7 separate regions of the Homo sapiens genome follow, and regions 2, 3, 4, 5, 6 and 7 are each linked to region 1. The links are contacts of gene promoters, found by promoter capture Hi-C in blood cells and fetal thymus (Javierre and others, 2016). All regions are on one chromosome and are shown on one strand. Each heading gives the region's core, a stretch centred on a gene start or on the middle of the fragment in contact. The rest is flanking DNA. Distances are from core to core; before and after follow the strand shown.

Evidence for each region. Contacts are between HindIII fragments. The CHiCAGO score rates a contact against its expected background, and 5 or more counts as called.
Region 2: a contact is called between a fragment that was not itself captured here and the fragment with the promoter of MAN2A2 in region 1, in 3 of 17 cell types (total B cells, naive B cells and activated CD4 T cells). The highest score is 6.1, in total B cells.
Region 3: a contact is called between a fragment that was not itself captured here and the fragment with the promoter of MAN2A2 in region 1, in 1 of 17 cell types (activated CD4 T cells). The highest score is 5.5, in activated CD4 T cells.
Region 4: a fragment that was not itself captured here is called in contact with the fragment with the promoter of MAN2A2 in region 1 in 1 of 17 cell types (naive B cells); the score reaches 7.6 in naive B cells.
Region 5: a fragment that was not itself captured here is called in contact with the fragment with the promoter of MAN2A2 in region 1 in 3 of 17 cell types (M1 macrophages, activated CD4 T cells and erythroblasts); the score reaches 6.1 in M1 macrophages.
Region 6: a contact is called between a fragment that was not itself captured here and the fragment with the promoter of MAN2A2 in region 1, in 6 of 17 cell types (monocytes, M0 macrophages, naive B cells and 3 more). The highest score is 6.7, in monocytes.
Region 7: a fragment that was not itself captured here is called in contact with the fragment with the promoter of MAN2A2 in region 1 in 1 of 17 cell types (erythroblasts); the score reaches 5.3 in erythroblasts.

What each region holds. Positions count from the first base shown.
Region 1 is chr15:90,901,792-90,904,680 of GRCh38, reverse strand. MAN2A2 (mannosidase alpha class 2A member 2) reads right to left here and starts at 1,379. Exons shown (of 23, transcript NM_006122.4): 1 at 1,249-1,379; 2 at 342-491. The coding sequence starts at 473. RefSeq lists enhancers at 389-448, 2,289-2,338 and silencers at 1,399-1,828, 1,849-2,118. The HindIII fragment of the contact is 23,300 bases long and covers 1-2,889 here.
Region 2 is chr15:90,437,116-90,440,004 of GRCh38, reverse strand. IQGAP1 (IQ motif containing GTPase activating protein 1) reads right to left here. Exons shown (of 38, transcript NM_003870.4): 6 at 606-673. Among named protein-coding and RNA genes, the nearest start is that of IQGAP1, 50 kb to the right of the region's middle. RefSeq lists a silencer at 2,741-2,889. The HindIII fragment of the contact is 189 bases long and covers 1,374-1,562 here.
Region 3 is chr15:90,453,277-90,456,165 of GRCh38, reverse strand. IQGAP1 (IQ motif containing GTPase activating protein 1) reads right to left here. Exons shown (of 38, transcript NM_003870.4): 13 at 2,874-2,889; 14 at 1,614-1,738; 15 at 1-14. Among named protein-coding and RNA genes, the nearest start is that of IQGAP1, 66 kb to the right of the region's middle. RefSeq lists an enhancer at 1-15. The HindIII fragment of the contact is 613 bases long and covers 1,048-1,660 here.
Region 4 is chr15:90,475,225-90,478,113 of GRCh38, reverse strand. IQGAP1 (IQ motif containing GTPase activating protein 1) reads right to left here. Exons shown (of 38, transcript NM_003870.4): 24 at 1,296-1,451; 25 at 884-1,047; 26 at 225-449. Among named protein-coding and RNA genes, the nearest start is that of CRTC3, 53 kb to the left of the region's middle. The HindIII fragment of the contact is 160 bases long and covers 1,327-1,486 here.
Region 5 is chr15:90,497,177-90,500,065 of GRCh38, reverse strand. IQGAP1 (IQ motif containing GTPase activating protein 1) reads right to left here. Exons shown (of 38, transcript NM_003870.4): 37 at 2,726-2,834; 38 at 1-71. Among named protein-coding and RNA genes, the nearest start is that of CRTC3, 31 kb to the left of the region's middle. The HindIII fragment of the contact is 2,106 bases long and covers 396-2,501 here.
Region 6 is chr15:90,560,251-90,563,139 of GRCh38, reverse strand. The region is part of intron 2 of CRTC3 (CREB regulated transcription coactivator 3); the gene reads right to left. Among named protein-coding and RNA genes, the nearest start is that of CRTC3, 32 kb to the right of the region's middle. RefSeq lists an enhancer at 1-259. The HindIII fragment of the contact is 514 bases long and covers 1,272-1,785 here.
Region 7 is chr15:90,595,552-90,598,440 of GRCh38, reverse strand. The region is part of intron 3 of CRTC3 (CREB regulated transcription coactivator 3); the gene reads right to left. It overlaps LOC124903555 (a long non-coding RNA gene), which reads left to right and starts at 2,463. Exons shown (of 2, transcript XR_007064758.1): 1 at 2,463-2,550. RefSeq lists enhancers at 1-244, 2,412-2,481. The HindIII fragment of the contact is 4,338 bases long and covers 1-2,889 here.

The DNA.
Region 1 (2,889 bases), core at 130-2,629:
GAGGCGGAGGTTGCAGTGAGCCAAGATCGCGCCACTGCACTCAAGGCTGGGCGACAGAGCGAGACTCTGTCTCAAAAAAAAAAAAAAGAAAGAAAAGAATTCAGGAGAACAGAGTGACAATACTCATTGCCATTGACATTTTTTCTTCCTTCCTTCTTTTCGCCATCACTGTTTTTAGCTGAGGGTTTCTACAAAACCTGACTATTGGGAAGGAAGGCTCCTGTCCTGTACTGACATTACCCTCCAGCGGGGGGTGGGAGGGGAGGCGGCGGGGTGGGAGGTGCATACCCTGAGCCCAGGTGACTTGTATACAAAGAAATTAGCAACCAGGCACGACTCACCCGGGGGAAGTTCCCACCATTCTGGTGTCGGGTGGGATCGTGTTGCACTCGGTCCAGCATGAGGTAGAGCGAGAAGACTGCCACACAGAAGATGGCAGCCCCACACACTGTCACCTGCTTTTTCAGCTTCATACTGGCCTCCACACACACCTGGCAGGAAGGACACCATCTGTAGCTCCAACATGCAAAATGCCCGTGGCAGTCTTTCCACCAAATACCCCAGTGAGTTCCTGAGGGCTGTTCCAAAGGAACACCCATTTGCCTGGCTCCAAGTAGCACAAGCAGCACATCTGAGGCTGGCCCACCTGGTCCTGGTAGCAGCTCTGCCGCTAGGGTGGAGAGGACGCTCTCCTTTGGCTGGTGCTATGAAAAACGGGCCCAGGATAAGAGTCCCAGCTCCGACTGGAGCGCACCACACAAGCTCCTGATTACACAGCTTCCCTGCCTAGATAGGAGGTGCCTGTTCAGGCTCCTCGGCCATGTGCTTCTAGTTTCAGGTGAATAAGCTAGTCTCTATTTTGTTTGATTTAAAAGTTTAGCCAGAACCCAAAGAGACTGATAGGAAAGCCTTTCTCAGTGCCCTTTCGGGTCAAACTGGCACTCACCAGAAACAGTGCCTGGCACGATCCTTTCTCAGAAACACAGAATGAGTTTCTTTCTAATAAAGAAGAAAGATGCTTGTGTTTCTAGCATAAAGCAAGCCCTGTGTGTTCTCCCTGTTTCTCTACTGTTCACTGCAGTGGGAAACTTCCAGCCGCGGTTTGCAGAGCACTTAGGGGACCCCTAGGAAGCCTGCAGTGACGCCGAAGGCCCCCTGGGAAGGGAGAGACGGGGCCCAGTGCTCAGCTGCGAGGCAACTTCAGGGGACCCGTGCCCCCCGCCGCCACCGCCCTCGGGCTCCGCTTGCCTGCTCAGGAGGAAGGAGGACGCTAACTGCGGAGCCGAGCGTGGGCGGGACCGCGCTCCGGAGTCTGCTCCGCGGGCCCTGGGGCCGAGGAGCTTTGTCGCCTCTGCGTTGTGCCCTACTTAGCGCGATCTGATTCTGCTCGGGAGCTTCCGGGCAATATTTTCAGCCCTTAGAGACTGGGTCTAGGCCAATGTGGGTGGAGCTGGGGAGAGAGTTGGATCACAGAGGGCAGGCACCTGCCGCCAGGTCTCTGGCCGCCCGCCCGGCTCCCTCCCCACCCGCTCCGACTTCGTCGGCCCCGGGGACCGCAGAGACAGGCGCCAGGTACGGGCCTCAGGCAGCCTCCTGTCCCTTCCTGGCCCCTCTGACGCCGCAGTGGCGCTCGCACTCCCGCCGCCCGAGCCCGGCCTCTGTCGGGGCAGCCGGAGCCCTCCCGCGCGCGCACCCGGCCCGTTACCGTCAGCGCCCGGCCTCCGCGCCGCTCCGGGCCCAGTCGGCCGAGCTGCCGGCTCTCACACGCCCGGGGACGGCGGCCCGCGTGCAGGCAGCGACGCAGGCGAAGGCGGGCGCCCGCCCACCCGTAGCCCCCTGCTCCGCGCGCCGCTGCCGCGCTCCCGCTGGGCCCCGGGCCGCCGGCGCGCTCCGCTGCGCCGGCCCCGCGCGGGTCCGCCAGCCTCTGAAGCTGCCGGGCCCAGCAGCGTGCGGGGCGGGGACAGCCGCGCCGCCCGCCCCGGCCTGCGTGTGCCCGGCGGAGCTGACAGGAGCTCTGGCCGCCGCGGTCCCCGCCCGGCTCCTCCCGGGCCCGCTCCGCTGGGCTGCAGTGCGCAGCCGCACCAGCCCGGGCCGGGCCTGGCCAGCTGCGGAACCTCAGGAGGGACGCGCGACTGAATTTTTTCGGAATCCTACTTGAGTAAGCGCATGATCGGGCAGTGGTCGAAACGCCCGCCTCCGTCTCGGCAGACGCGTAGCGGGGTGCGTTCTCCGCGGCCTCACCCGGCTCCGGCCCAGGTAGCCTTAGGTCTCTGTCGTTGCGCCCCTCGGGCAAAGGGGTGCTGCCTCCTGTCGGTACAGCGCATTCCTCGAGTCCCTTTCCTTTCCGTGCCTGCTCTATGTTTCCTGCCAGCGAGTGAACAAGACACAGACTTTTCTTGGCTGTTTCCCTTTTACTGGGCATCTAGGTTGTTTACAGTTTTTCAGTGTAATCCATACTGCAATGAACATCTCCATGAATTCCACATTTTTGTTCTTTTTAAGTTATATATAACATTATCTGAATGTGACCCCCCAAATTCATGTTCAAATCCTAATCCCTCAAGGTGATGATGGTATTAGGAGATGGGCCTTTGGGGGTGAACAGAGTTTGAAGGGAGAGCTCTCATGAATGGGATTAGTGCCGGTATCAAATGACCCCGAGAGTCGGCCCCTTCAACCACGTGAGAACACAGCTAGAAGGCACTATCTGTGCACCACAGGCAGGCCCTCACCCGACACTGAATCCGCTTATGCCTTATCATGGACTTTCCAGCCTCCAGAACTGTGAGAAAATACATTTCTGTTGTTGATAAACTACCTACTTTATGGTATTTTGTCCTAACAGCCCGAACAGATTAAGACGTTATTTTATGATGAATTTGCAACAGT
Region 2 (2,889 bases), core at 219-2,718, 460 kb after region 1:
CTTTCTTACCAATTTTTAAACTTTCAAGCCTACAAAATAATCACCACTTTGAAAGACTTGAATCTATCTTACCCTTAAACAGTATTACCACTGCCCTTTTTCTCCCCAACCCCTCATCTCTTCAAGCATCTGGCTATAGCAAATACACATAGAAACACCCACCCAAATAAGCTTAAATTTTAAAATTACTAAATTGGCATCTTTGTGTCATCTCACTCCCCACTCTCCCTCTTGCTTTGCCCACAACAGATGCTTGCTGGAATGGAAAGGGAAAGATAGTTATAAAGCTTTTTTCAACATACCCGAACATTTAGTGTTATGTGTTAACATTATTATGTTTTATATATGTTAATGTTATCCCCAATTTACATATAAGAAAACTGAGACTCACTAATCATGTTCACATTATTAAGTGAGAGAACAGAGCTTGAAATTTCAAGTTTAGTGTTCTTTACCCCACATTAGAGAAGCAAGTTATTCGTATTTTTTTCACCTCCACTGCCAGTGTATTTTTAAAGCCCTAGGTCTTCAAAATTGGTACTGCTGGCTCTCCAGGCTATTTCCACATAATTCAAGCATTTCCTGCCAAGTATCTAACTCCTTACCTGTGAAGTCAACCTTTCCATATAGGTCTTGAATCTGAGGGGCCAGGCCTAGCTTGAACAGGTACAAACTAGAAGATACAATATGCAAAAGGTTAGGCCTCCCAGCTGTGCCTAGCTGCCACCCTTAAAAGGCGAAAATCAGCATGAAGTATAAAATAGAAGTATTCTGAACACTGAGACTCCCAGTACCTACGACAGTCTCCTTTGTAGTTACAATACGCTATTTACCTCAGTTTTTTTTTTTTAGTTTACATGACAACATTGTCCTAAAAAGTCACATAACACAATGCAAAGAGCACTGGACTGGGAGAAATCAGTAGGCACAAATTAAAGTCCCGGTTCTGGCACAAACTCAATGCATAATTAGATGTTAATGGCCAGGCACAGTGGCTCATGCCTGTAATCCCAGCACTTTGGGAGGCTGAGGTGGGCGGATCACCTGACATCAGGAGCTTGAGACCAGCCTGGCCAACATGACAAAACCCTGTCTCTACTAAAAATACAAAAATTAGCCAGGCGTGGTGGCATGTGCCTGTAATCCCAGCTATTCAGGAGGCTGAGGCAGGAGAATTGCTTGAACCTGGGAGGCAAAGGCTGCAGTGAGCCGAGATCACACCACTGTACTCCAGCCTGGGCAACAGTGTGAGATTCCGTTTCAAAAAAAAAAAAGATGTTAACATTAATGTTAATATAATGTGAAGTGTCTCTTCATTTGTTTGCCTTCCTGTAATCAATAAGTTTTAAATAATAAGACATTTTAGAAAAGCTTCATAAAAATGATTCAGATGGCAAATCTTACTTAAACTGAATTCATATTACTGATGGAAAAGTTTAATCCAGGTAATTTAACAGTTTTAGATAAAGAATATTTCATATATTTTTACTTTTTAATTATCAGGTTGGTGAAAATTATTTTTACTTTTTAAACTTAAAAAAAAATCAACTAGACTCTAAGCTTCATGAAAGCAGGGACAATACAGGGCTCATTCACTAATGTTTACCCAGAGCCTAGCATATATTAATAAACATTAATCAATATTTGACAGATGGATGGACGGATAAATTAATGTCCATAAGCCTGTGTTATTAAGTGGATTCTAAAGCCCTAACTGATCAGAATCAATAAATTAGAAGAGATCAGAAGGGTACTTTACAGATACTGACAAAAGCAAGATATTGACAGTTTAAAGTAAGCAGGGAAATAAGAAATATATAAGAAATAAATCATAGAAACTTAAAGTGGTATACAGTTTTTGTAAATAATCTATAAACCTCAATATCATCTAAATACAAACACGCATCATGTACACTGCAATCACAGAACTGATCAAAATTTAAATTGTATATAATAAACCCAAATGTATAATAGAAAAACAAAAATCAAGTATTCTCAAAACACACTAGAATTTATACATCCACAGAAGCTAAACATTTTCTCAGAGAAGTGCAAGTATAAGTCATGTGTATATGATTAAATGCTTTTCTTTCAGGTAAAAGACTCAAGATGGATATATAAAGCGCCTGTCTCAGAAGATTTTAAATGTATTCAAAAAATTCTCCAGACTGGGTGTAGTGGCTCACACCTGTAATTCCAGTACTTTGAGAAAGAGAGGCAGGAGGATAGCTTGAGGTCAGGAATTCAAAACAGCTTGAGCAACATAGCAAGACTTGTCTCTACAAAAAAAATTTCTTAATTAGCCAGGTATGGTGGTGCATGCCTGTAGTCCTAGCCATTTGGGAGGCTAAGGCAGGAGGATAGCTTGTGCCTGGGAGGTTGTTACAATGAGTCAAGATCACACCTCTGCGTTCCAGCCTAGGCAAAAGAGTAAGACCCTGCCTCTTTAAAAAAGAAATTCCAAAGCAAAATAACTAATAACTTTCTATATATTTTTATACATTTTTATATATTTTTTATATATTTTTCTCACTAATACATCACATCTGCATTCTTAATTAAGAGAATATTTTTCTCCAAGAATTTCTTTCTCATTTATTCCTACTTGGAAATAGCGAACAAGAAATTTTAAGAAAGTTCAAGAATGTTGCTGATATGGTTTGGGTCTGTGTCCCTGTCCAAATCTCATGTCAAATTGTAATCCCCAGGTGGGGGCCTGGTGAGAGGTGATTGGATCAATGGGGGCAGGTTTCCCCCTTGGTGCTGTTCTCCTAACAGTGAGTGAGTTATCGCTAGATTTGGTTTTTTAAAAGTATGTAAGCACCTCCCCACCTCTCTCTTCCTCTTGTTCCTGCCACGTGAGACGTGACTGCTTCCTCTTTGTCTTCT
Region 3 (2,889 bases), core at 105-2,604, 450 kb after region 1:
AATGGCTAAAATCCCTAAATATAAAGAGACAGAAAGTTTTTTTTTTCTAATTAAGGAAGTACATAAACAAATCAATCATGGAACATGCTAACTAATCATAAATCCACCTAAGAGTAACCATGATTCAAACTGCAACTTACCATCCGTTAAGCAGCACTGTTTTCATTTTTTAATTAGTATTTATTTCAACTAAACTCACTTGTATTCATATTCCTATTGAATGCTCAAGTCCTTTTGTTTCATTTTTAATTGCTCTAACTTAAAAGCGATGAGGATTTTTATGAAACTGGCCTTACTGTATAGCTTTCAGGTACACTGGAATGTGTAATCAAAAACATTCTTGAGTCACAAAGGATTCACGAAGAGTCTTAAAAAGGTTCAAGGGTTCTTAAAAAGTCATCTAATTCAACACTTTTATAGAAGAAATAACAAGGCTTAGCAATCTCTTCTCCAAGATTACACAGCAAACAAATGGCAGAAGAAAGATCCAAGCGCAGGGCTCCCTAATGCGAAGCAAGGCTCTTCCCACCAAGTCAGTTGAATATTTCTCCCAGGAAATACAAATTAAAATTAGGAACGTTCACTCCCCAGGTATCTTAGGCAGCCGTACTGCTTTTGTAAGGACTCTGCTGTATAATAAAAAGTCTGGCTGGTCTTTGTCTCTGGGGGAGCGTCTAAGACCCTTGGGATATCCTGAGTGATAGGTATGTTTCTGTGATTCATGGTGGGCCCCTCCGCCCACACCTGAATTTATGCCAACCAATGACTCCTGGTTGGCCTCATGAGAGTTTAAGGATGGAGGCTGGCCATGCTGGAAAGATCAACCACTGAGGTATAGAGTCACGTGATACCAGCCTGGCCTCCCATTCTCCAGGGAGCAGAGGCCAAATGAAAATTGAGTTTAATCGCAAAGCCAATACTATCAATCACGCATATGTAACGAACCCAAATAAAAACTCTGGACACCCAAAACTCAGGTGTGTTTCCCTGGTTGGTGATACACGTCAATGTGCCAGGAGAGTGACACATCCTGAGAACACAGAAGCTTCATATTGGGGACTCTCACAGATATTGCCTGATGATTCTCTTCTTTCAGCTGATCCTGATTTACATATTTTGTAATAAAATTTTAATCGTAAGTCTAGCATTTTCTTGAGTTCTGTGAGTCATTCTAGCAAATTATTAAACCTGAGCGGGTAGAAGGGATCCTCCAAATTTGCAGCCAGTTGTTCAGAAGTACAGTGGCCTGGGAACCCTGCAGCTTTCAGCTTGTGTCTGAAGTGAGAGGAGTCTTGTGGAGGACCATGCCTACAACCTGTGCAATTCAACCTAATTCCATGTAGTGTCAGGACTACTTGTTATAACAGCATTTAAAAATAACAGATCATGTTCAATTCACCTCCCCCAAAATTTAGTTCTTACTGGACATATACCTAATTATAGCAATTGCCTGGTGTTCTCAAAACAATATCCAACTTTAGCCTTTTGTGTTATATAGATATTTTCAATCTCTCACCCAAAAATCCTTCTAGGAGTAGTATTTTGAACCACTTCATGGAATCACATCATCATTAATGGTGACATTATTTGGGGAGGACAGGAAGATAACTCACTCTCATGTTCCTCTTGCACCACCAGGTTCACATGGTCCACGCAAGCTTGGATATCATTCCATGTAATGAATTCATTATTCTCTGCATGTGCCTGAGCCTTCAGTTTCATCAACTCATCGAGATACCTGCCCCAGACCCCCAAGTAAAAAGAGCATTAAGCACAGCATGTTTAAATATTCAAGGAACAAAGATTGCTAGGGTATCCCAACCATTTGATATATTCTCAAGACCAGTTTTGGAACTGCACAGTTACTTTAAACAAAGTGCAAAAATGCAACAGAAATCACTTATTCTCAATATCCTGTTACATATTCTAAATTCCATGTTAAGACTAACTCTAGAATTAAAGGCAGCAGTTCAAGCAATTCCTCCATAGACAAGAAAAAAAGGCTACACATGAGCTAATAAATGCAGGAGGAATGACAGAGCAACAAATCATCATTCAGCAACTTTTACTGAAGGTACTGATTTAGGAAAGATTATCAATTGGGTTAAAAATATCACGTGAATGCTTAATGGAAAACTAGATATTTTGACGGTGCAAAAGAGATGATGTTCTAGTGATGAGGGAAAAGCGTAAATACGCAATGGAAGTATAAGTGGTCTCCCTAATCCAGGGATCAATCTTAGTATCTCTAATGGTGGGATGGTGGGAAAAGTGGGTTTTATATGCCTATTGATATGAGGCAATATGAAATACACATCATCAAAAATGTTGAACTGAATCGTGACAAGCCTAGAAATTTAATTTCCAATTTACAGGAATAAGGCAAATATGAGAAAGCAACTAGAACTATCCATAAAATAGGCAATTGGTCCCATCCCTTTAACAAGTCAGTCTCATGAAGAAAGGGACAATTCTAGATTAAAAGATACTCAAGGGACACAACAGCCAGATATAATACATGTTCCTAGGCTAGATCTTGTTTTCAACAAAACAGCTATAAAGGACAGTTTGGGAACAAATGAAGAATGAAAATGAACTAGCTAGGGTTAGATGATATTTAAAAAGTATTATTTAACTTTGTCAGAGATAGTGTTATTTTGACTATGTAACATATTTAAGCCTACTTATATATTTAGGAACGGAATGTCATATTTTTCAGCATAACAAAGAATTAAGTGAATCAAAGTAGAACCAAACAAAAGTATGACCATGATAAAGTAATAATGCCTGCAAAGAAAATCGGAGCACTGACATACAAAAGACAGGGTTAACAGCTACGTAATGGATTTATTCCCTTCACTCTGGACACCCACCTCTGACAGTTTTCTT
Region 4 (2,889 bases), core at 157-2,656, 430 kb after region 1:
AGGCTGGGGCATGAGAATTGCTTAGACCTGGGAGGTGGAGGCTGCAGTGAGCTGAGATTATGCCACTGTACTCCAGCCTGGACGACAAGAGTGAAACTCTGTCTAAAAAAAGAAAAGAAAAGAAAAACTATTTGAACTAATATTAGTTTATAAATAAAGAGAGGGGAAAAAAGAGGGAAAGACTATAACAACATGAAAGAAAAGTGTCATTATGGTTAACATACCTTGCCTCTCCTGTCTGAGACTCCATCTGATTAACCCAAGATTTGTAAATATCCACAGGGTCAGTTTTGATGTTGAGAGATTTGTCATCCATAATTTCCTTCACGACTGGGGCCAAGATCTGTCTCAGGGCATTCTGGCCACGGGCACCACGGTTGAAACTTACAACCATTTTAATAACCGTAGGATTTCCTGTCACAATCTCTTGAATCTGATCTACCTTCGACCTATAAAACATCAGATAAAAATTTAAACTTGTCACAAAACCCATCAACTTAAAAGATCCTTCCTGCTTAAAGATCCTATCTCCCTGAAACAGTTTCTCTCGAAACATTCCCCAGCACTCACAGAATGTTCCTGCAGCTGCACGCTCAATCGTGGTCATGATTGGGTCCGCTACTAGATAAAAATGTGAATTCTTTCTGTTCAGATTACTTTTTGAAATTATACCTTAATACAGAATGTTCCTAAAGTTAATTTATCCCTTCCCTAGAAGCAGCAAGATTTTATATCAGTTATTTAAAAATTAGATGCTTCTTTAGAGTAAGTATTTTTCATAAATTAATTGAGATCAAGAAAAGATCAGGAAGGCATGAATCTCAAACTGGGAGCCCCTCTGATAGTGGGAAGGGGCCTGTGCCCTGAGGAAATCTGTTCATACTTGATTTCCTCTTGGAGTGCTGTCTTAAAGAGCCGCAGGAGCAGGTACTCCTCTCGCTGGTTGGACGCGTAGTTGTAGAGTGTGAAGATTACAGAGTCCATGAACTTGGTGGACTTGTTCTGGGGCATCTGAAAAATGAGCTTGGCCAGATAGGTGGGATTGGTCTGAAATAAAACCAAGGGATAAGTCATTTGTAGGTAATATAAAGGCTGGCAAGATATATTCAATTATTTAAAATTGAAGGACTACAATACATATGAGAAAAAAGATTAATAAATTAACATGTTACAGTGCCCCTCACTCACCCCTCAGTGGAAGTCAAAAATACTTCCAGAGAGATCGATGGTAAGGCTTTCTTGTGGAAAAATAAATTCACTAAATTTTTATAACACTGATTCCAGGAGCCACTTACTTGCAATAAATAAAACAGGTGCTGGTAAGCTTCCAACTTCTCTCTCTTCTCCTTGCTCAAAGCCTTGAGACCTCCCTTCTGTTTATTTATCATCATCATATCAGACAACTGTTCCTTATTTTTTTTGGTAAGTTTTTTACTGTGGGAAACCACATCCTATAAACAAAAACCAATAAATAGATCAGAAAGCTTTCAAAGATGAACCTCTGGGCATTGAGGAAAGGTTTTGCAGCATGTGCAAACTCACATGAAGGTGTACTGCACTGGCAGATTCCCACTGAATATTTAAAAACCACTACACTTTATCCTGTTTTCAGTACACCAGTCAAATCCATTCCTATGTTCCAACAAAGAATCTGAGCCATAAGAATGTCCACTGAATTGGCAAACCAACTTCCAGCAGTCTATTATAAAAATAAGTCTTAAATACAATAAAAGCTACATATATATTGAAACATTAATTGCAATGTTATTTATAATAAACGCTTGGAAAACAACCTAAATGTCAAATACTAGGGGAAAAAGAGGTAAATCATAGTATATCTTCTAAAAATCTAATATGCTACTGTTAAAAATAATATTTATGGCTGGGTGCAGCGGCTCACACCTGTAATCCCAGCACTTTGGGAGGCTGAGGCAGGAGGATCACCTGAGCCCAGGAGTTTTGAGACCAGCCTGGGCAATACAAAGATACCCTATCTCTTATAAAAATATAATTTGCCAGACGTGGTGGCATGCACCTGTCGTCCTAGCTACTTGAGAGGCTGAAGTGGGAGAATCACTTGAGCCTAGGAGGTCGAGGTTGCAGTGAGTCATGATCATGCCACTGCACTCCAGCCTGGGGTACAGAGGGAAACTCTGTTTCAAAAAATAAAATTAAAAAAAAATTATGACTACTTATCATAGGGAAAGAGTCTTATCCTTTAATATGAAGTAAGAATGTAAGATACAAAATGACTGGGGTAGGTGAAATTAGGGGAAGACATTTATCTTCTTTTCTCTATCAAAATTTTGTCAATTAAGTTGTTTTATGTCTTAAATAATTTTTTTTTTTTTTTTTTTTTTGGAGATAGAGTTTCACTCTGTCACCCAGTCCGGAGTGCAGTCATGCAATCTTGGCTCACTGCAACCTCTGCCTCCCAGGTTCAAGCGATTCTTCCACCTCAGCCTCCTGAGTAGCTGAAATTACAGGCATGTACTACCATGTCCAGCTAATTTTTTTTAATTTTTAGTAGAGACAGGGTTTCACCATGTTGGCCTGGCTGGTCTCAAACTCCTGGCTTCAAGTGATCCGCCCTTCTCGGCCTCCCAAAGTGCTGGGATTATAGGTGTGAGCCATCATGCCTGACCTGTCTTACATAACTTTTTTAAAAGCTTATGATGGCCGGGCATGGTGGCTCATGTTTGTAATCCCAGCACTTTGGGAAGCCAAGGTGAGTGGATCAATCACTTGAGGCCAGGAGTTCCAGACCAGCCTGGCCAACATGGTGAAACCCCCGTCTCTACTAAAAATGCAAAAAAGCCGGGTGTCGTGGCTCACGCCTGTAATCCCAGCACTTTGGGAGGCTGAGGCGGGTGGATCACCCGAGGTCAG
Region 5 (2,889 bases), core at 199-2,698, 400 kb after region 1:
TTGACATTTACTTTAGCTCTATCAAATAATTTCATGACTGCAACTCCTTCATACTGTAGCTGCAGCAGGTCCTATTAACAAAACAAAACAAAACAAAACAAAACATTTTGACAGTTAATCAAGTCTGTGGAACAAGGAAAAAGGACACAATGTAGGGAGGGATCCAGATGGACTGAGGCCTGCCTTGTGTGCCAGATGTGAACTGGGGCGAAAGAAAAGTTCCACGCTAGGCAACTACCCACTGCACAACCAGCCTGAGAGCTGGAGCAATAGGGCACATTGGCCAAGGGAGGCTTCTGGTTGATTTGGAGTTAGGAAGTCATGTTGTTCATATCAAAATTCATCATACATGGAAAGAAAAAGAAACATGTTCAATTGCCACACACATCTAAGCTTTTTATTTCAGAAGTCACAATGACATTTTCCCATTTCATCCATGTTATGGGTCACTAGTTTTAATAAATCTGGAAAAGGTGAAGCATTTAAACCTATGATGAAATATACTAAGCACGGGGAAATGAGATAAGGCTAGTAATGTCACCTTAATACTATCTGATAGATTCTTAATTTCTATTCCATATGAGAACACTTTCTATCCCGAAGGCAAGGGGAAAAGAGAGAACTTGATGTTTTATTAGGTGTCTGCCATGTGCTTGGCATTGTGTAAGCACATTACATAGTATCTTTTAAAGTCCTCACAAAAATTTTTATGAGGTGCGATTATTCTAACTTTAAAGATGAGCTACTGAGACTCAGAGATGTTAAATGACTTGCACAACAGGACAGAGATGGAGGCGATAAATCCAGATCTGACTGCAATGCTCCCGCTTTTCCTGCTACTTTCACCATTGTCCTGAACAAGTTTAAGAAATCTGAGTGGTCTCACTTCTGAACTTTATAAGAGTGGTGATGAGAAAGCAAGGGTCAAAAGTCTTGAAAGGACCCCACAAGGCCGGGTGTGGTGGCTCACGCCTGTCATCCCAGCACTTTGGGAGGCCGAGGCAGGCGGATCACGAAGTCACGAGTTAGAGACCAGCCTGGCCAACATGGCGAAACCCTGTTTCTACTAAAAATACAAAAATTAGCTGGGCGTTGGGGCGTGGTGGTGCACGCCTATATTCTCAGCTACTCAGGAGGCTGAGGCAGGAGAATCACTTGAACCCAGGAGGCGGAGGTTGCAGTGAGCCGAGATTGTGCCATTGCACTGCAGCTTGGGCAATAAGAGCGAAACTGTCTCAAAAAAAAAAAAAATTAGCCGGGCGTGATGGTGTGCGCCTGTAATCCCAGCCACTCAGGAGGCTGAGGCAGGAGAATCACTTGAACCCACGAGGTGGAGGTTGCAGTGAATGGAGAACACGCCACTACACTCCAGTCTGGGAGACAGGGCGAGACTCTGCCCCCCCCTCCAAAAAAAGAAAGGACCCCACAAGTTCAATTATCTGTTGGAAAAATCCTAGCAGCTCCATGAGGGCTGCTGGGACCTGTGCCTAACAGAATACCCCACACCTGGCAGTTACCCCACATTTAATGAATTTGTACATAAATTAATAAATTACCACAGGCAGACTGGTTGGCCTAACATGATTTGGTTAAAAAATTTAAAAATAAAAATATGTTCTGATAACTCCACGTAAATAAAAAATTTTAAATTAAAAAAATAATTTGGTGAAACTGAGGGAATAAGAGGTTCCTATTCTTTTTTTTTTTTTGGTGGAAGTACTTTAGTTAGCTGTGTGCATCACAAAATCATTTCACATTTGTTTAGCTAACATGTTTTAATGGTCTACTGGTCATTGAGAAGGAAACGAAGATGACTAAGAAATGCTACCTGTCCTTAAGGAGTTTATGGCTTTAGCGGGGAGAGGGGAAGTAAGTCAACACCTACTGTAAACAGAGGATGTCTGCAAGGGCTACAGAAGCGAAGGGGAAACCACCTATTATGGCTTGGCTGGGGGAGGCACACCCATGGAAGTACTCCATGGAGGAACAAAAGGGGCGGGGTTGGGAGGCAGGGGAGGGGAGGGAGGGCAGCATGAGCAGAAGCCCAAATGTACATTGACAGGAAGGCACCTGCCCGGGCTGGCAGGGCATGGCTGTGTGAAGCAGTGCAAGAAAGGAGAGAGAAGCAGACTAACCGGTGCCACACACACAAAGCTAAAGGAGTCTGGATGTCACCTAGGAATCCTCTCGATGCCCTGTTATTTTTTAACGTGTAAAAATCAGATATTTCAAAATAAAACTTAGGGATCTTTATGCTACAAAAATGAATTACTCCCGAGTTCTTTTTGGATTTAAGATAGAATTCAGTTTACAAACATAAACTTTACACACACCTTGTCAGAATGTATCTAACTTTTAAGTACCTATATCAAATCAAAATGACAAAAAGATTTCAAGCTACTGAGTGGGCTTAGAATTCTGCAGTGTCAGCATGTGTACTTCTGCATTTTGTTCAAGTCCAAGGTGTCAGCTCGATTTAGTGGCAGCACTAAGTGGAAGCTTCAGCTAAATGTTTTCTGAAGAGTGACATCTGCAAAAGCTCTCCAGAGCGCACACACCAAACCAGACATGCTGAAACCCTCAGCTTCTTTCCCCGCAGTGTGGAGCCTAGCTCACTGCTGAATGTAGACAGCTTTCCTCAGATGAGTCTCCTCTTTATCTATTTCTCCTACTTGGACAAGAATCTCATCCAGAAAGTTTTTGGTTCCTGCTGGTGCATACCCACCTGATAATGTAACATAAAAGTCTCCATTTGAACTCCCATGAATTTGGCTTTCACTTCGAAGTCTCCAACTTCTTCTGTTGGACTGATTTCAAATATAACATTTTTAAACCTGTTGAAAGATAACATCGTAAGGGTATGGTTTTTATATTCTCATATAAAAATAT
Region 6 (2,889 bases), core at 279-2,778, 340 kb after region 1:
GCCATCATGCCCAGCCCGTTTAACTTTTAAATGCTAGTTCTAAATTAATTAATTCTAAATGAACCCCCAAAACTTCTCGGAGACTAAGCAGGCACGGACTGGTAGAAAGCGTCTCTTGAGCAATTTCATGAATGACAAGATGGCAGAGTAAGAGATACTGAGAGAGACAAGCACAGGCATGGCCAGTGCCCAGCAGCCACTGCAAGGGGGAGTCACAGCCTGTGTGGCCTGGTCTGCTCCTGTTGGCCCACCCCATTCTCACTGGCTTTCTGACCTTTTGGCTCCTGCTTGCGGCTGGTCTGGCTTGCCCCCTCCAGTGTCAACTGACCCCCCTCTTCCATCCAGGCTGTTGCCTCCCAACTCTGGCCTTTCTTAACCAAGTTCCAGGGTGAGACTCTCAGTTCAGGCGAGTTAAGACTCACCCAAGGAGAGACTTCCTAGGTAGTCAAGGGAAGGAAAGTTTGATTTGGACTAAAAGTAGTAAAAAGATTTCTCAGGTGGCCGGGGGAGTGAATAAGCAGAATATATTCTAAGACGAGAAACCAAACAAAAGTGGTACTAAACTGGGCATACGATGGTTCCAGGGGACTAGAAAACGGCATCTATCCAGACTGAGAAAAACAAAGCATAAAACACGTTTCCTAGGTAAAAACAAATTGGTTTTGTGTGTCTACACTTGCTTAATTTGCAAAATAAGAGCAAAGGCCCGAGAAAGATAAACCTGGGTTTGAGTCCTGACTGTCACTTGCCACTTGTGTGACCTTGGGCATGTTACTGTTTAAGCATCAGTAAAATGGGGATGATAATGCCTATCTCAGAAGGTTGATGTGGGAACTCAATGATATCAGGTACACAAAGCATAGCTCAGGTACTCAGTAACTGTTCGTGTTCTTCTCCTCACCACTCTTAAACTTCTGTCATATGTCTGTGGGGAAGTGTTTTCCCTTGCACTCAAGAAAACTAGCATAAAAGAAAGTGGTTACCCTGGTGACTTCCTCCAAAGAGGTTACAGGAGAAAATGGGGAGGGGAGAGCTTTCTCAAGTCACATCCCCAAGAGGCTGGCGGTAGAGACAGAAAAGAGCTAAGACATTAGCTATCTGTTGTCGAGGCAGCCAACTGCTTATAGCCAGGGAGTTCCTTGAGGCACTGACTATTGCCTTTGAGCAGGGAAATAATTACAATGTCTGGCATCAAGGCCTGTGTAGAATCTTCCACAGATGTTATTCTGTCTCTTGGAAAATATCCACAGTAATAATAAACAACTAAAGCTTCATTTTAAGTTTAAAGTATAAAAACTAGCTGTTTCATAACATAGGGACCAATTCTAACTCCTGACTATTGTGAAATTTTGTAGGGAATTGGAACAAAACTTTGGCTGGTTCTACAGCCAAAACATGTAGGGACTTAAAATTCTAGTTAGAGATAATCACTACTTTAAATGTAGTGCCTCTTCTCCCTCTTTTGTGAGCTGGCAGTCAGAGGCTGGATTAAGGAGATAGGTAAGAGGATTGCTTCATACTAATATGATTGAATTTAACACAGATTCAAAATGCGAGGGAATATAGAGACCTAGCTTCTTTCCTGGTCCTACACTGCCACCGCCCACATGTGCCTTCTCTGTGGGTATTCTTTCTGCCTCTCTTGAAAGCTGCACTGAGTCAAGGCACTAACATACAGCCTGGTTGACTTCAGGACAGGCCGATTAAGACTTCAGCAAAAGTATTTTTATCTAGTCTGTGAAGAATTAGTAGGATGCAACTAGCCTGTATGACATTTAAGAAGCTTCATATAATGAACAGCAAAAGCTTAGTTCTCTAGGCCTAGGTAGGATACCTGCAAAGAAAGAGGCAAATGGTACCAACAATCTATTGAAGTCAAATTAGAAGGCTGCAACAGGGAGTTTATACTAGGAACTTTGCAATATGTATTGAACAACAACTGTGCTGGGCATTATTCTAAGGATTTACATGCATTACCTAACTTAATCCTCCCAATAGCTCTATCTTAGGTACTATTAGTAGCCACATCTTGCAGATGAGTGAGCTGAGACACAGAGAGACTAACGATCTTGTCTACGATCCAGTGCTAGTTAGTGGTGGAAGTGGTCACCAGATCCCCACTCTAGGGACTGCACTTGTGACCATCAACATGAAAATTTTGTTTATTTTGACATATTGGATGGCAGGTCATAGAGACTTATGACAGAGACTTACTAAATTGCTTGATCAAGAAAAGGGCTTGTATGGTATTAAATTTTGTTGACCAATTTTGTTGAACCCCCCAAGCGGCTTACAAGACAGTTCTTATGTGAGACATCTCCACAAACTAAACCTGAACCTGCAGGGTGCAATCAGGAGCCTTGGTAATTCATTCCAGGACTTTTATTGTTCAGACTCAAACAGGACCTGCAGCTCCAGCAGGCAGCATCTGGGCGCTGCTCTCATTCCCTATTGTTCTGACAGCCAGACCTTTGAGGATCTGCAGAGCTGGTGGCCTGATAGGAAGTCACACGATTTCAGAAGAGCCTGCCAGGTTTTGACCATATGAATTATGTGTCTAGTTTCTGAGGCTGCCTCTGGAGTTAACCCCACAGGGGATATCTGAAGTATTCATCGTCTGCCCCAATCATGCTGCGTAGCTGAGGAGGGTGGAGTAAGCTAAAAGCGAATTCTGCCCACAGGGAAGACAACGGATGCCTGGTAACTTGGAGCTAAGCCCACAAATTCCAGAACTCTTTTGAAATTTCTGATTATGTGGCCAAAGTCTGGGAAATGTTTGGGTCTACTTGGCTCTGAGAAAACACATTCTCTTTCAAGAATCTGGTAGAACCAAGGATGAGAGCCATCATCAGTGACGTAAACTGGAAGTCAGGATTTAGAGGTGTCCTG
Region 7 (2,889 bases), core at 101-2,600, 310 kb after region 1:
GTTAGAGGGAACAGTTCTTACTCTTCACCAAAGGAAGGGGAGCAGCTCTTCTTCTTCTGATAAGAGAGGACATCAGTTGGCCAGTTTACCAGTGGGTGGGGTTACTGAGCCACAGAAGCTGAAAACAAGACCCGCCCTGGCCCTTTCTTTGTGCTGCTTGACCTGCGGCTGGGTGAGCAGGCCCAGGGTTCCCTTCTCTTGGCTTCCCGTCCCTGTGCGGTCAGTGTACCTGGGCAGGGCTCAGGAACTGCCTTGTCGGGGCAGCCTGGAAGCCAGTCATTTCTCTCCTGCTCTGGAACTCTGTGTTCTGCCAGGGACACAGTTTGTGGGGCAGGCCTGAGACCTTCCATGTAGCTGGTGGGGTAAGTGGGCTCGGAGTCTGGTTAACAGAACCCACCTACCAAGACAAGTTTCAGGGTCAGATTTAATATATAAAACTGGCCACAATTTGGCTCCTTCCTGATTGCTCAGCCATGTGTTTATTGTCATTCTACTTCTTTTTGTCCCTTTACCTCTAACTATGTCCCACTAGAAGACATCTTAAAGTGAAACTGTAAGGGAGGATATGAGTGGCATCTTTTTGAGTCCTTGCATTTATAAGAACATCCTGTTTCCCTCAGCAAATGAGAGGCAAACAGGTTGCATGTGGTATTGTGAAGTCAGAATATTTCCCCCTTAAAATTCTAAAGACCAATGTTTCCTTGTCCTTCAAGATAAGACGGGTGTTAGGTAACAGTTGGATTTTGTGATCACTTAAGTTTTGAAATTCTGGGTTAAAGATAAGAAGTTTATTAACTGCAGGACTTTTCAGAGCCCTGATATATACGGTCAGGCTCCAAGAGGTGATACAGAGTATGGTGTTTCTCAAATGTAATAGGCCATGCATCTCAAAGAAACAGTGTCCTATAAACCAATGTCCTAACATTTTCATCTCATTATGATGAAAAGAATCAAAGCAAGGCCCAGCCCAGAGAGGAGAATCATTCCTAACTCTAGTAGGTCTTAGGCATCTCTTCACGACCCTTCACGCTGGTGAACTCTTGACTTCCTTTCAAGGAAGGCATTTCGTGTTTCCTTCTGAGCGTGTCATCCACAAGGCTGAGAAAATATTTTATTTGCTATAAATTTATGTTAATAGTTCAGAAGTTTAGCAATGGTGTTTGGGACACGGCACGTCTGCCAACCTTGATGAGTGAGAGTAAGAAGGGCTGCTACAGACTGCACATCTGCAGAAGGGCAGAAGAGCTTCTCTTCCAAGTGCCCGAGCCCAGGCCCCCAGCCAGGAGCAAGCCCTGGCAGTGCCTCTCCTCCGCCTGTGTGGGGCTAGGCCAGGGCCCAGCTGCAGCTGTGCCTTGGTCTTGTGTGGCCACCCATGCCAAGGGCAAAGCCCACTCCAGAAGGAATCTCCTGTGGCAGAGCTCTGCGTGCTGTGGCTGCCCACTCTGAGAGGAGGCCAGAGTATTTGTTAAACAATGTTCGTTTTATTTGAGATCACCCTATCATAGGAGTGAACCCTTAAAACCCTTGTCTAAGCCAGTGTGTCTTAAATAACACCCAAGCCAAGAAACAGCTATAATAATTCTGATTTTTTCCTTTTGTTCTAACAAAGATTCAAACTAGTGTTTTATACTTTCAAATGAAGAAACTTCATTTAAAAAGTCATAGACAAATGTTCAAGGCCACAATTTTAAGCAGATTATTTCACAACCAACAGAATGCAGGTCGTGAAAGCAAAGACGGAATCACAGCCCTCCTCCTCCAAGTGGAATAGATTAACACCAAAATAAAATCATCCCATTTCACGGACCCTTGATTCCTCAAAAGAGACTGGGCTAAAGAACTTTCTTTGCATCAACCGATGTCCAGTCCCAGGAACCCAATTTAGGAGCTTAGGAGACCACAGAGACATGGCTCATGATCAGTGAATCTGACTCATACTGTCTAATAACTTTAATTTCTCTGCATATTAACTTGGTTTTTGTTTCTCCTTCCTTTAGGAGTTGACTAGCTTTGCTTATGCTCTCAAGTTGATCCATACAGTGCCAGATTATACCCTATCATAAGAGATAGGGTCCCCTGAACACAAGAAGTCATCTCCCCTTCTGGGTAGGACTTTGCACCACATTCTCTTCCCTCTGCCTGGAACATACCTCCCAACTGCTTTACTCTCTTAAATCTCACTCATTACCATCTAAAACCATTTTCCTTTCTTATTGCCTGTTTGCTGTCATCTCCCACAGGACTGTGAACTCAAGAAAGCAGGAAGTATGCCTCCCTTATTCATCACTGGGTCCCCAGTGCTTAGAACAGTGCCTGGCACAGAGACGGGGCTCTGTAAAGATCTGCTGAATGAACACTTTATCCTCTTACTTCTTATCCTTCAAGCCTCAGATGTTCCCCCAGGATGCCTTCTTCGTTTCCCCAGACTAGTTCAAGCTGCACCTCCGACGTGCTCCCACAGCCCCTGAGCTGCCTCCCTGCAGACGCCATACCTGCCGTGGCTGCTTGTTTGCTGAGTAGCCTCTCCCACTGAACCCTGGGCAACTTGAGGTCAGGGACCATGCTGTTTACTGTTACAGTGAATTAAAATGTCTAAAACGGTGTCTGACCACTAGCACATACTTAACAAATAATTTTTATAAGTGAATAAACATTCTCCTCTTTTTTCTTCAATTCCCTTCTCTATTTTGGTTAGTAAAACTATATGCATGCTTATACATTTAGACCGTACTTCAAAAGTATCTGAGATAGCCACATATACATACACACACGTATATATAGCATAATGTTTAATCTAATATATAGAAATGAGAGCACTGACAGGAAAAAGAGGGAACTGAGAACTGAAAAAATATACATTGGTTTTTTTTTTTTTTTTTTGAGACGGAG